Regions from separate parts of the Homo sapiens genome. Here all the other regions are linked to region 2. Evidence: promoter capture Hi-C in human tissues and cell types (Jung and others, 2019). All regions are on one chromosome and are shown on one strand. The core of a region is centred on a gene start or on the middle of the fragment in contact, and the rest is flanking DNA. Distances in the headings are between cores, read along the strand shown.

Region 1 (4,244 bases), core at 313-2,812, 240 kb before region 2:
CTGAGGCAATCTGCCCACCTTGGCCTCCCAAAGTGCTAGGATTACAGGCATGAGCCACTGCACCCAGCCTTTTTTTTCTTTTCCTTTTTCTTTTCTTTTTTTTTTTTTTTTTTTTTTTTTGAGATTAAGCTTTGGTCTGTTGACCAGGCTGGGGTGCAGTGGTTTGATCATAGCTCATGGGCAGCCTTGGACTTCTGGGCTCAAGAGATCTTTTCACCTCAGTCTTCTAAGTATCCAGGACTACCAGTGTGCCCCACCATACCTGGCTAATTTTTAAATTTTTTTGTAGAGACGGAGTCTTGATATGTTTTTCAGGCCAGTTTCAAACTCCTGGCCACAAGTGATCCTGCTGCCTCAGTCTCTCAAACTCCTGGAATTACAGGCATGAGCCACCACATCTGGCCTGTAAAGATTTTTTGTCTCTAAATATGATCACATTCTGAGGTGCTGGGTATTAGGACTTCAACAATGAATTTTTTTGAGGGATACAATTTAGCCTGTAACAGGATGTAGAGGCCTCACTGGGTCTATCAAAACCTAGGCACATTGAATAAGAGCCAGCAGACTGTGGCGTAGCTAAAGCTGGTGGTGGGTGAACTCTGAGCACAGTTTAGTTTGTTCAGCACATCTCAGGCTGTGAGGCTTGCCTGTCCTTCCCAGATCCAGTCATTCTGCCTTTTGGGAATGAGAACATCCTCTTAGCACTTTTCCTTGCTTGTTCAATAACATTTTCTGTTATAAAAGTGGGGTGGGACAAAATGTGGTGGCTACTCCTATAATCCCAACACTTTGAGAGGCTGAGGCAGGAGGATCACTTGAGCCCAGGGGTTCAAGACCAACCTGGGCAACATGACAAGACTTTGTCTGTAAAAAAAATAAAATAGACGGATGTGGTGGCACATGCCTGTAGTCCCAGCCATTCAGGTGGAGGCTGAGTTGGGACGATTACTTGAGCCCAGGAAGTCAAGGCTGCAGTGAGCTATGGAGTGCCACTGCACTCCAGCCTGGGCGACGGAGTGAGACCTAGTCTCACACACACACAAAAGCACACCACAACGATTCGGAAAAGATAAATAGAGGATCTCACTCTGTTGCCCAGGCTAGTCTTGCACTCCTGGACTTAAGCGATCCTCCCACCTTGGCCTCCCAAAGTATTGGAATTACAGGCCTAAGCCACACCTGCCCTGTTTTGGGGTTTTAGTATTTACTTTTTATTCTATCCTCTTTCAGAAATAGTTAGACCCTGTCTCTTCTGAAAAGCAAAAAAGTTTAAAAATTATCTGGATGTGGGGCTGGGCACTGTGGCTCACGCCTGTAATCCCAGCACTTTGGGAGGCTGAGGCGGGCAGATCACGAGGTCAGGAGATTGAGACCAGCCTGGCTAACACGGTGAAACCCTGTCTCTACTAAAAAAAATACAAAAAATTAGCCAGGTGTGGTGGCGGGCGCCTGTAGTCCCAGCTACTCGGGAGGCTGAGGCAGGAGAATGGCGTGAACCCAGGAGGCAGAGCTTGCAATGAGCCAAGATCGCGCCACTGCACTCCAGCCTGGGCGACAGAGCAAGACTCCATCTCCAAAAATAAAAAATATATTATCTGGATGTGATGGCTTATGCCTGTAGTCCCAGCTACTCCATAGGCTGAGGCAAAAAGGATCACTTGAGCCCACCCAGCAGTTCAGGCTGCATTAAGCTCTGGTCGCACCACTGCACTCCAGCCTGGGTGACAGAGCAAGACCCTATCTCTAAAATTAAAAAAATTCTATGGCAGGATAAAAGTAGATGCATAGATCATGGTGCAGGTAAGCTGGGGTAGAATGTAAAATGAAGCCAAGCAGTCAGTATCCAGAAATGTAAACCTGAATCTCTCTGTACATTGAATAAAGGTATATTCCAGTGTAAGATTAAGCAGGGAAGATCATCAGTTCCAAAATGCATAGTGTTCTTAAGTTAAAATAGCAATTGTGTGGATTTCCCTGGCACTCAGATACAGGAGACACTATTAGATGATATCCTCGACAACATCCCCATACAAAATACCCTTTTATGGTCCCTCAAGTAGTTTTAAAGTATCCTGTTATCTTAGCACTGTTTTTGACATTTGAAAATGCAAAATATGGCCAGGCACATTGGCTCATGCCTGTAATCCCAGCACTTTGGGAGGCTGGGCCAGGGGGATCACTTGATCCCAAGAGTTTGGGACCACCCTGGGCAACACAGTGAGACCCTGTCTCATATATGTGTGTGTGTGTGTGTGTGTGTGTGTGTGTGTGTGTATGTGTGTATGTATGTATATATGTATGTATATATATGTGTGTGTGTGTGTATATATATATATATTTTTTTTTTTAAAGGAAGAAGAGGAAATATGTGTATGTGAAACTCAGGATGAGGTCCCTGAAATGGTGCTTATCGGGTCAGAGGGTGTGCATCTGAGGTTAAGCTGGGAAGGCAGGGAGCTTTTGTTCTCCTTCTCATTCCGACAGCTGCAAGCCAAGCACTGGTGGCCAGTGCTGCAGGATAGGGCATCAGCTGCAGGATATGGCATGTTGGTCAAAATGCTGTTGGCATAAGTGAGAAAAATAACAATACTCCAAAATATGTCCCCAGTTTTATAAAAATGGACCCAAATTATAAATGATACAAGCAAATACAGAGAGTAATGGTCAAACCCATTTCACTACATTCAAAATGACTTAATTCTTAGAAGTTTTGGTGGGAGAATGTGGTGTAGAGCTCTGCACAAGCAGACATTGTGCTTTTGGGGCTTCAACATGACCACCCAATCACTGATGGGACTGTTTGAAATCTGTTTTGTTGGCTTTGGCATATAATAGCCATCTTTGGAAAACTGGTCTCTGTATGGAATATGGTCTTGTGTCACTGTATAAAAATGAGAACCCAAAAGAAGCTCTCACATGATTGGGTCAGAAAATTGCCCATAACTATTGCTAGGAAAGTTTTTGAAATCTCTGAATTCAATGTAATTGAATTTCTTTAGACACCTAGCCCTCTAGGTTGAAGGAAAACCAGTTTTTTAAACTTATCGTATACTTTTTTTTTCCTGTACTGTTTGTGTGTGGATTGCATTCATCATGCTCCTCTACCCCATAATACTTTTGTATTTCCTAAGAACAAAGATAGGTAGATGGCCTTAGTTGGTATTCGTATTATAGCAGTGGCATCCAAGCACCTCTGCCTTTGTGTATGTGTGAAATTGTCCTAAAGAATGCATTTCTGGTGTATTGACAGGCCTGAGACACCCCAACACACCTTCACAGTCCTGGAGCTAGCTTTCTCCATCTTGGCCCCAGGTATCTAAGAAAGTCCCACCACTTTGTGCTACAAAGATTCTCTCTCTCCCCCTCAGGATGTCATTTCAGTTGGGTACCTGGCTTATACCATATGTGTTTCATTGTGGCTGTTGAGGAAAGTTGATTAAACTGGGTGTTCCTGCCTGGAGTTGATTAGGATCTGGTTCACTCAAAAGTTGCTGCCTTGGGCTTGTGATACAAACACAGGTCAGGCTTATTAGCAAGCTCTAGCAGGCATGTGTGCAGTGAGACTGTGGGGTTTTGTCCACAGCAAGCTGTTCTTAGCCAGTGCTACAGGGAAAGCGAGAGCAGTAGTGAGCCTGGTTGTTAGGGTTAAAATAGGAGTCAGAGGACACTGGACTCTCCTGCTTCAGCCAGGACATAGTTCATTTATGGAAATGCCTAGATTAAGTCTTGTCGGACTTATGCAACAGCTTCTGTCAGGAAAGGAGTGAGATGTGCCCCTGTGCTGGAGGGAGTGTGGCTTAGCAGTGGCACAGCTCCCAAAACACATTTTAGCTGTCAATCAGATTTAGCATGTACTGAGTCTCTATTATGTATTAGGCAATAGAGACAGCATTTAGACATACTTTGCCTTGTTCATTTTTTTTTTTTTTTTTTTGACAGGGTCTTACTCTGTTGCCCAGGCTGGAATGCAGTGTCATAATCATAGCTCACTGCAGCCTTGAACTCCTGGGCTCCAGCCATCCTCCCACCTCAGCCTCCCAAGTAGCTGGGACCACAGGCATGCACCACCACACCTGGCTAATTGTTAAAAATTTTTGTAGAGATAGGATCTTGTTACATTTCCCAGGCTGGTCTCAAACTCCTGACCTCAAGCAGTCCTCCCACCTTGGCCTCCCAAAGTGCTGGGATTACAGACATGAACCACTGTACCTGGCCTGATTTGCTTTTTAACAATTTCAGGAAAT
Region 2 (3,634 bases), core at 1,135-3,634:
CTTGTTAAACAAACAGGGATGAAACCCCCTCCAGGCTTGGCTTTGTCAATGACATAAGGCTCATAGGGTTAGCGTGGGGTGGAAGGAGGGTCAATAAGATCATGTGAGCAAAACCCAAAGCCCTTAGCGCAGTGCCTGCCACATAGTAGGTGCGCAATATATGATTATTTTTGCTGCCAAGCAACCATTTCCCATTCTCCTGGGGGACTTGCTGGAGATTGTGGAGCAGGGGTTTGTGATTGAGACACCTCTCCCCAAGCCAATGGGCAGGCTTGTGTCCCAGGTCAGGACAATCAGGCACTCCCTCCATAGGATGAAAACCTTAAACGAATGGCATTCTCTTTACCAGAGCAGCAGTGCCCTAACCACACTGTCCTTGCCAGGCAAATATTCCCAAGATTCCCCTTTCTGGCCTTCCAGAGCCACCTTGATTTCATCCCATTTCCCAGTTCTCCAGGCTCCCATGGGCTCTGGGATCACATATTATCTTCCCAGTTTATTTCCTTTTGCCTGAGGAAGCCAAAGTCAGCTTCTGTGGCTTACGGCCAGAGACCCCTGACACTGACCAATGGAAAAAAGGGGGCTCTGGATCCACTGCTGCACGGAGAGGCACTCTAAGCTGCCCTCTAGTCCTTCTGAAGGAAGGCCTGAATACTGGGGGACCCTAAAAGGCATTGCAAATCCTTAACATCACCATCAAAGTCATACAGGGTTTTGGCCCTGCACCTCTCTGGCCAACATCCCACCACCGTCCCCATTGTTCACACCACTCCAGCCCCACAGGCATCTGTGCTATTTGTCACTGTTTGACTGGACACACTCCCTCCTCAGGGACTTTGCATTTGCTGTTCCCTTGACTCAACTGCTCTTCCTCCAGAAATCCCCATGGCCTACTCCTTTTCCTCTTTGCTTAAATGTCACCTGCTCAGTGGGGCCTCCCTCAACCACCCTACTTCAGAATACGATCCCCAGGGGTCTGGGCCCTCCCTGTCCCCCTTGCCTACTTAATTTTTCTCCAGAACTTTCCAGCATGGTCTGTCCTTTTCTTACATATTTTGTTGTCCGCCTCCTAAACTCCATGAGGGCAGAGTTCATTGTCTGTCTTGCTCACTTAGAAATCTCTAGCACAGTCACTTGGCACAGAGTAGGTGCTCAATAAATATTGACCTGAGTTGCATTCTGGGTGGATACAGTTAGGGACTTGGGGTGACCAGGGGCTCTTGATGGAACAAGGCTTTTCCCACAGAGCCCACTGCTTGCTCAGCCCCAGAGATCCTGGCTGACAAGTGCCTCCTTTTGGGGCCAGACTCCTGGGAAAACCCCACTCCTCCAGTGACCTGCATGTCGGGGAGGGAGCCACTTAAGTCCCGGCCTCTCCTGAATGGATAACCAGTGTATCTTGGAAGACTCTTTTTTTTTTTTTTTTTTTTGAGATGGAGTTTCACTTTTGTTGCCCAGGCTGGAGTGTGGTGGCACAATCTTGGCTCACTGACACCTCTGCCTCCAGGGTTCAAGCAATTCTCATGCCTCAGCCTCCTGAGTAGCTGGGATTACAGGAGCACGCCACCATGCCTGGCTAATTTTTGTATTTGTATTTTTTTTATTTTTTGAGACGGAGTCTCACTCTGTCGCTCAGGCTGGAGTGCAATGGCGCCATGTTGGATCACTGTAACCTCTGCTTCCCGGGTTCAAGAGATTCTCCTGCCTTAGCCTCCCCAGTAGCTGGGATTACAGGCAGCTCGCCATCATGTCCGGCTAATTTTTGTATTTTCGTAGAGACGGGGTTTCACTATGTTGGCCAGGCTGGTCTCGAACTCCTGACCTCAAGTGATCTGCCCGCCTCGGCCTCCCAAAGTGTTGGGATTACAGGCGTGAGCCACCGCGACCGGCTGGAAGACCCTCAATAATAATAATTAATAATAATAACAGTAACAGTGGCAAGCATTTATGCTCGCTGGCCTTTCCCCCTGGGTCTGTATTAAGGGCTTCACATCCAATATCTCACTTAAGGCTCAGATCGTTCTGAGACCCATTATGCCCATTTTATACCACATTATACCCATTTTAAAGATGAGAAAACTGAGGCTTGGAGAATATCGGTAGTAGCCCCACCATTTCCTGTGACTTCCTGGAGCCTGGCCCACAGAGGAGGGTTCAGGACGGACGCTTTCCTTCCCCGCCCTAGGGAAGAGGGAGGGACGCGGGCGCTGGCGTGGAGGTTGGGGGAGCCTGAGAGGCTCGGGCGCTGGGTGCGCGGGAGGGAGCGTGCGTGCTTGGCGCGAAGGCTCCTGGCGCAGGCGACCCGGCTGCCCCGCCGAGCGGTGGCTTTCCGGAGGGGTGGGGCGGCCGCCTCGGGTCCTGACGTCGGGCGCCCTCCGGCCGTCACTCAGCGCTCGGCCCCGCCCCGCCGCGGCTGCAGCAGCAGCGCCGCGGCCGGAGGAGCTACCGCCGCCACCGCCGCCACCGCCTCCTGGGACTCGGAACGCAGCGCTCGGAGCCATGGCCTCGGCCCCCGCGGGTAAGAGGCCGCTGGACACGAGGGCGGCGGGAGGGCAGCGCCCGGCCCCCGCACCCTCTCTCGGCTGACCCGCGGCTCTCGTTTCTTGTCCCACAGAGGCGGAGACCCGACAGAGGCTGCTACGCACCGTCAAGAAGGAGGTGGGTGCCGGGGTGGGGGCACTGGGCAGGACTCCCCCGGCAGCAGCGGCCAAACGGGAAAAGAGTCTTCGTGGAAGGGTGGCCTCTGGCGGCGGGGGGGCGGCCAGAACAGGTGTGGGGCTCACCTGGGTGGGCATTGACCTCCCGCAGGGCAGGAGGCGCAGCGAGGGAGTTTGGGGGTGGGCGTAGGTGTGGGGAGGCTTTGGCCCATTTGAGGCTTTTTGCGGGGGCGGATGTAGCGTGAGGGCCCTCCAGGTGTGGGGCACACCTGGATGTATCCCGATAGGACCTCCTCTTGTGGAGGAGCAGGTGGGCGCGGCTCAGGAAGGGGACCTTCCAAGAGAGAGAAGCTGCTAGGGGGACGCCCCCCACAGGGTGTGCTGGAGGAGGGGCTCTGAATGGGGCTGCCGAAGGTGGGGCACGCTTCAGGAAAAGGCAGAAGGAAAATAAAACCTCCCTTCCCAGCCCCCGAATTCTCAGTCCTTGGAGCCACCTCCAAGAGCCAGGGGACTCCCTCCCTGAGAGTCACGGGTCAGTGAGCTGCTCCCCTGGCAGTAGGGGTCCCTTCACTCCCCCCGCCCCACTCCCACCCCACATTCAGAGGGTGAGAATCAGAGAGGTTCTGCCATTCCTCTGCCCCTCCACTCTCCTTGGGGTCAGCGCGTGGAGAGGGGGGCAGTCTAGTCTTTAGGGCTCATGGCCAATGACCTCCCAGAACCCCATAGACAGAATTTATAGTCCTTGGGGTAGCATCTCGATGCCTGGACTGCGTGCTCTGGTGTGTATACCTGCATGGGTGAGGACCTGTGGCTGTGAGTGTGTGCGTATGAGAATGTCTGTGCATCTGTCTGGAGATACCTAAGTGTATCTCTTTGCACTGTGTGTACACGTATCTATGTGTGTCTTTGTATCTGTTTTTGTGAGGGTGGGTCTGTGTGTGTATATTGTGTGGTGCATGAGTCTGTGAATGAGTGAT
Region 3 (3,705 bases), core at 719-3,218, 220 kb after region 2:
ATGGTGGCATTCCCAGGAGGTGGCAGCCAGAGACGACTGAATAAATGACTGATAAGCTCTCAGATCGAATTTAAGGGTGTAATTATGAAAGATCTTAAACAGCTGTTAGAATGAATCAACACCTCTGAATCTGGGAGAAAAGCTGCCAAACTGTTTGGTTTTGAATGGAAGTGCTTTTCTTCCCTTCTCTCTTGTGAGGCTTCAAGCTCAGTGGCTGTGTCCCCAGCACCAAGTACAGAACCTGGTGCTTGGGAGGGAGGCAGTGAGCATTGGCAGAAGTAGGGTCACAAGAGTGGACAAATGAATGCTTTCGAATGACTCCTGTTGAATTTCAGCACCTGTTGCTCTTGGGTGACCCCCTTCTCAGACAAATGATTTTTTTTCCTGCATGAAATAGCAGAAAATGGGAATCTTGCACTTTGCAAATTAAGCTTGGGGAGATCAAGCTTGTGGACTTGGCAAGTTCAGCAACAGTAGAGAAACACTCATTGCTAGCCCACTGCCTGGGGTCAGCCTGATGTCCCCTCTCTCACGGTCCTGCCACAGCCTCCTGACCTTCCCAGATGGATGCCTTTGTTCTCCATCTGTTCACCGTGCTGCCCTCCATGATAATTTACATACATATGAAACTAGAGGTGGCTCAGACTTGGTTTCCCTTCTTTCTCTGGGGAGGTCTTGTTGACTTGGCTTTGGTCATAATGGTCAGCTAATACACTGTTTAAAAAAGAGGCCGAGGCCGGGCGCGGTGGCTCACGCCTGTAATCCCAGCACTTTGGGAGGCCGAGGCGGACGGATTACGAAGTCAGGAGATCCAGACCATCCTGGCTAACACGGTGAAACCCCGTCTCTACTAAAAATACAAAAAAAAATTAGCTGGGTGTGGTGCTGGGTGCCTGTAGTCCCAGCTACTTGGGAGGCTGTGGCAGGAGAATCACTTGAACCTGGGAGGCGGAGGTTGCAATGAGCTGAGATAGTGCCATTGCACTCTAGCCTGCGTGACACACCGAGACTCTGTCTCTAAATAAATAAACAGCCAGATGTGGTGGTAGGTGCCTGTAATCCCAGCTTCACGGAGGTTAAGGCACGAGAATCACTTGAACCTGGAAGGTGGAGTTTGCAGTGAGCCGAGATTGTGCCACTGGACTCCAGCCTGGGCTACAAAGTGAGACTGTCTAAAAATATAAAAATAAAAAATAAAATAAATAAAAAATAGTGGACATGTCCACCCCAAGAATAAACAGCATCTAGCCTCTCCGTGAGTGGGCTTCAGAAAGGTTTTCAAAGAGGCTAACATCTCTTAAATCAAGTGTAACATATGTGATAACATTTAAAAGAAGACTTCAAAGCATACAGTTAAATTGGTTTCCCTGTATTTTACAGCAGGTTAAATGAAAACCTGAGAATCATAGGTTTCTAGGTTTGGCTAGGACTTTAAAATATTACGGAGCCATCTACTATGGTGGTTTAAAAACTCCTTTTACTAGGCCGGGTGCGGTGGCTCAATCCCAGCACTTTGGAAGGCCGAGGCGGGCGGATCACAAAGTCAGGATTTCAAGACCAGCCTGGCCAACATAGTGAAACCCCGTCTCTACCAAAAATATAAAAATCAGGCAGGTGTGGTGGCATGCACCTGTAGTCCCAGCTACTCAGGAGGCTGAGGCGGGAGAATTGCTCGAACCTGGGAGGCAGAGGTTGCAGTGAGCTGAGATCACGCCATTGCACTCCAGCCTGGGTGACAGAGTGAAACTCTGTTTCAAAAAAAAAAAATCCCAAAAAACTCCTTTTACTTTTCTTTGTTCATTGATTTATTAATTCATTCATTGACTCATTTGTGCAACTGTGTTTACATATCAGACATCTGCTAGGCATTTGCAATGGTAACTTGAGAGGCAGTTCAAGATACAAAGCAGATGACGGGTCACAGAGGCACTGTTTGGTGTAGAGGAGCGTGGACCAAGGGACTTAATTTATCTTGTCCTTCTCCTTTTACTTCCATGCAGTATAGTCCCTGAGGTGGGTTCAAGGTTCCCAAAGTGGGGTGACATTTGTGTACCATTGATCCTAATTCAGCAAACAGTTGCTCTTGGTGACTCTTTTCCCAGGAAAATCCATGCAGAGAAGCATTCATTCCACATTTGGGCAGGTGAGCTGGTGTGACAGTGTGAGGTTAATGTGGATGTAGCAGGTGCCTGCCCTCGGGGTGGAGCTCCTCTGTGTGGCCCAGTGAAACTGATAGAGGTCTTTGGGTGAGGGTTGGTAGATTGAGCCTCTGGCTTGTGAAACTGATAGGGGTCCCTGGGTGAGGATTGGTGGATTGAGCCTCTGGCTGAGCACTTCACAGCTTTTTGATTCTGTCATTCAGTAGCCACAGCCACAGCTAGAGTAACTCATCTTATGTCCCAGATTGCTTAGAGTCATTTGGCATGAGACTCATGGTATCTGGACTTATTTAGCATCTTAGAGAGTGGGCAGCAGGGGCAGAAGAATATTTCTTCATTCATTTACTTATTAACTCAGCAATGATTTATTTCTCTATTCAGTAATCATGTATCTGGTGCTTTTATGTGCCAGGCTGCTGTGCTAGCCACTAGGGATTTGGGGTGTCCTCTGGCGGGGCTTACCATTGAATGGGAGAGGCTGATGTGAAGGATGATGTCGTATTAAATGTAACAGTGTAGCTATGCTAAGTCCTGCCAAGCCTCCGAGTGTATGTGGTGCTCTGTGAACAGGTAGGAGGGGGTTGTACCGGGTTGAAGGGAGACAGAGATGTGTGAACTGTGGTCTGTGTCTGTGTGTGAGCAAGATGGTTGTCCCAGAGAACAGGCATAGCATGTGCAAAGGCCCTGAGGAGGCATTTGGAGGGCTTCAAAGAGGTACAATGTCCAAATACCGCTAATGTAGCTACCAAGTGAAGCACATCACTTGGTAGCAGCTACCAAGTGAAGCACATCACTTGGTAGCAGCTACCAAGTGAGTCAGCACCTCGAATGCTCAGTAGCTACCTCCTCTAAGTCAAGTGAGTTATGCAGGACCACCAGTTCCAATTCTAGGCAATCAGTCCTATTTGCCCCCACATCCTGCATTTAAAAAGTGACATTTGTTACCCAGTTGTAATTGCTTGTGTGTGTATGTGTGTTTCTTACAGAAGACTGTGAGTTGCATGGTTGCAGGGGATGTTTCATGCTCATCTTTGTACACACCGTAGGTGCTTAATAAATGTATCAGAGAACAGGGAAGATTTTTATTGAGCACGTACTGTGGGCTCAGCACTATTTATGCACACGTACATATAAGGCTACAAAATCGAAAAGCCAAAAGGAGCATACGTTTTACAAGCTGGAGTAGATGCCAGCGGATGCATTTGGAGCTTGAAAGCTTTTGTGCCGTCTGTTCCCATACTGCCAGAACTCCGGAACTGAGGCTGTCATCCTGTGTCTCCTTAGACCTGCTGAAACTCAGCCTGCTGGGACGAGTCTTCTTTCCCCCTTCTTGTTTCTGCCATGGAAGTGTGTGGACAGCCCCATTCATGATGACATGTGACACTACTGGCTTTTCCCGGCAGTCACACCCCCTGACCCAGGGCCTGCCAGCTTGGGTAAGTGGGGCCCATGCTTGACCCAAGCTTGAGGGCTGGAGTGTCCAAGGGCATGGAGAGTGCCTGTGAGTTCTGCCAGAGAATTTTCTCTCTGTCCTTTGAATCCTGTC

The links. The method cuts DNA at HindIII sites, captures the fragments that hold promoters and counts their contacts. A contact is called where the count stands out against the background at its distance.
Region 1: a fragment that was not itself captured here is called in contact with the fragment with the promoter of SGSM1 in region 2 in 1 of the 25 tissues and cell types used here (dorsolateral prefrontal cortex).
Region 3: a fragment that was not itself captured here is called in contact with the fragment with the promoter of SGSM1 in region 2 in 2 of the 25 tissues and cell types used here (IMR-90 fibroblasts and heart right ventricle).

Annotation. Positions count from the first base shown.
Region 1 is chr22:24,560,970-24,565,213 of GRCh38, forward strand. The region is part of intron 2 of SNRPD3 (small nuclear ribonucleoprotein D3 polypeptide); the gene reads left to right. Among named protein-coding and RNA genes, the nearest start is that of SNRPD3, 7.1 kb to the left of the region's middle. RefSeq lists an enhancer at 944-1,445. The HindIII fragment of the contact is 9,525 bases long and covers 1-4,244 here.
Region 2 is chr22:24,803,827-24,807,460 of GRCh38, forward strand. It overlaps SGSM1 (small G protein signaling modulator 1), which reads left to right and starts at 2,385. Exons shown (of 25, transcript NM_001098497.3): 1 at 2,385-2,518; 2 at 2,615-2,658. The coding sequence starts at 2,500. RefSeq lists a silencer at 2,223-2,432. The HindIII fragment of the contact is 18,100 bases long and covers 1-3,634 here.
Region 3 is chr22:25,022,190-25,025,894 of GRCh38, forward strand. KIAA1671 reads left to right here. Exons shown (of 13, transcript NM_001145206.2): 2 at 3,444-3,595. Among named protein-coding and RNA genes, the nearest start is that of KIAA1671, 71 kb to the left of the region's middle. The HindIII fragment of the contact is 3,060 bases long and covers 439-3,498 here.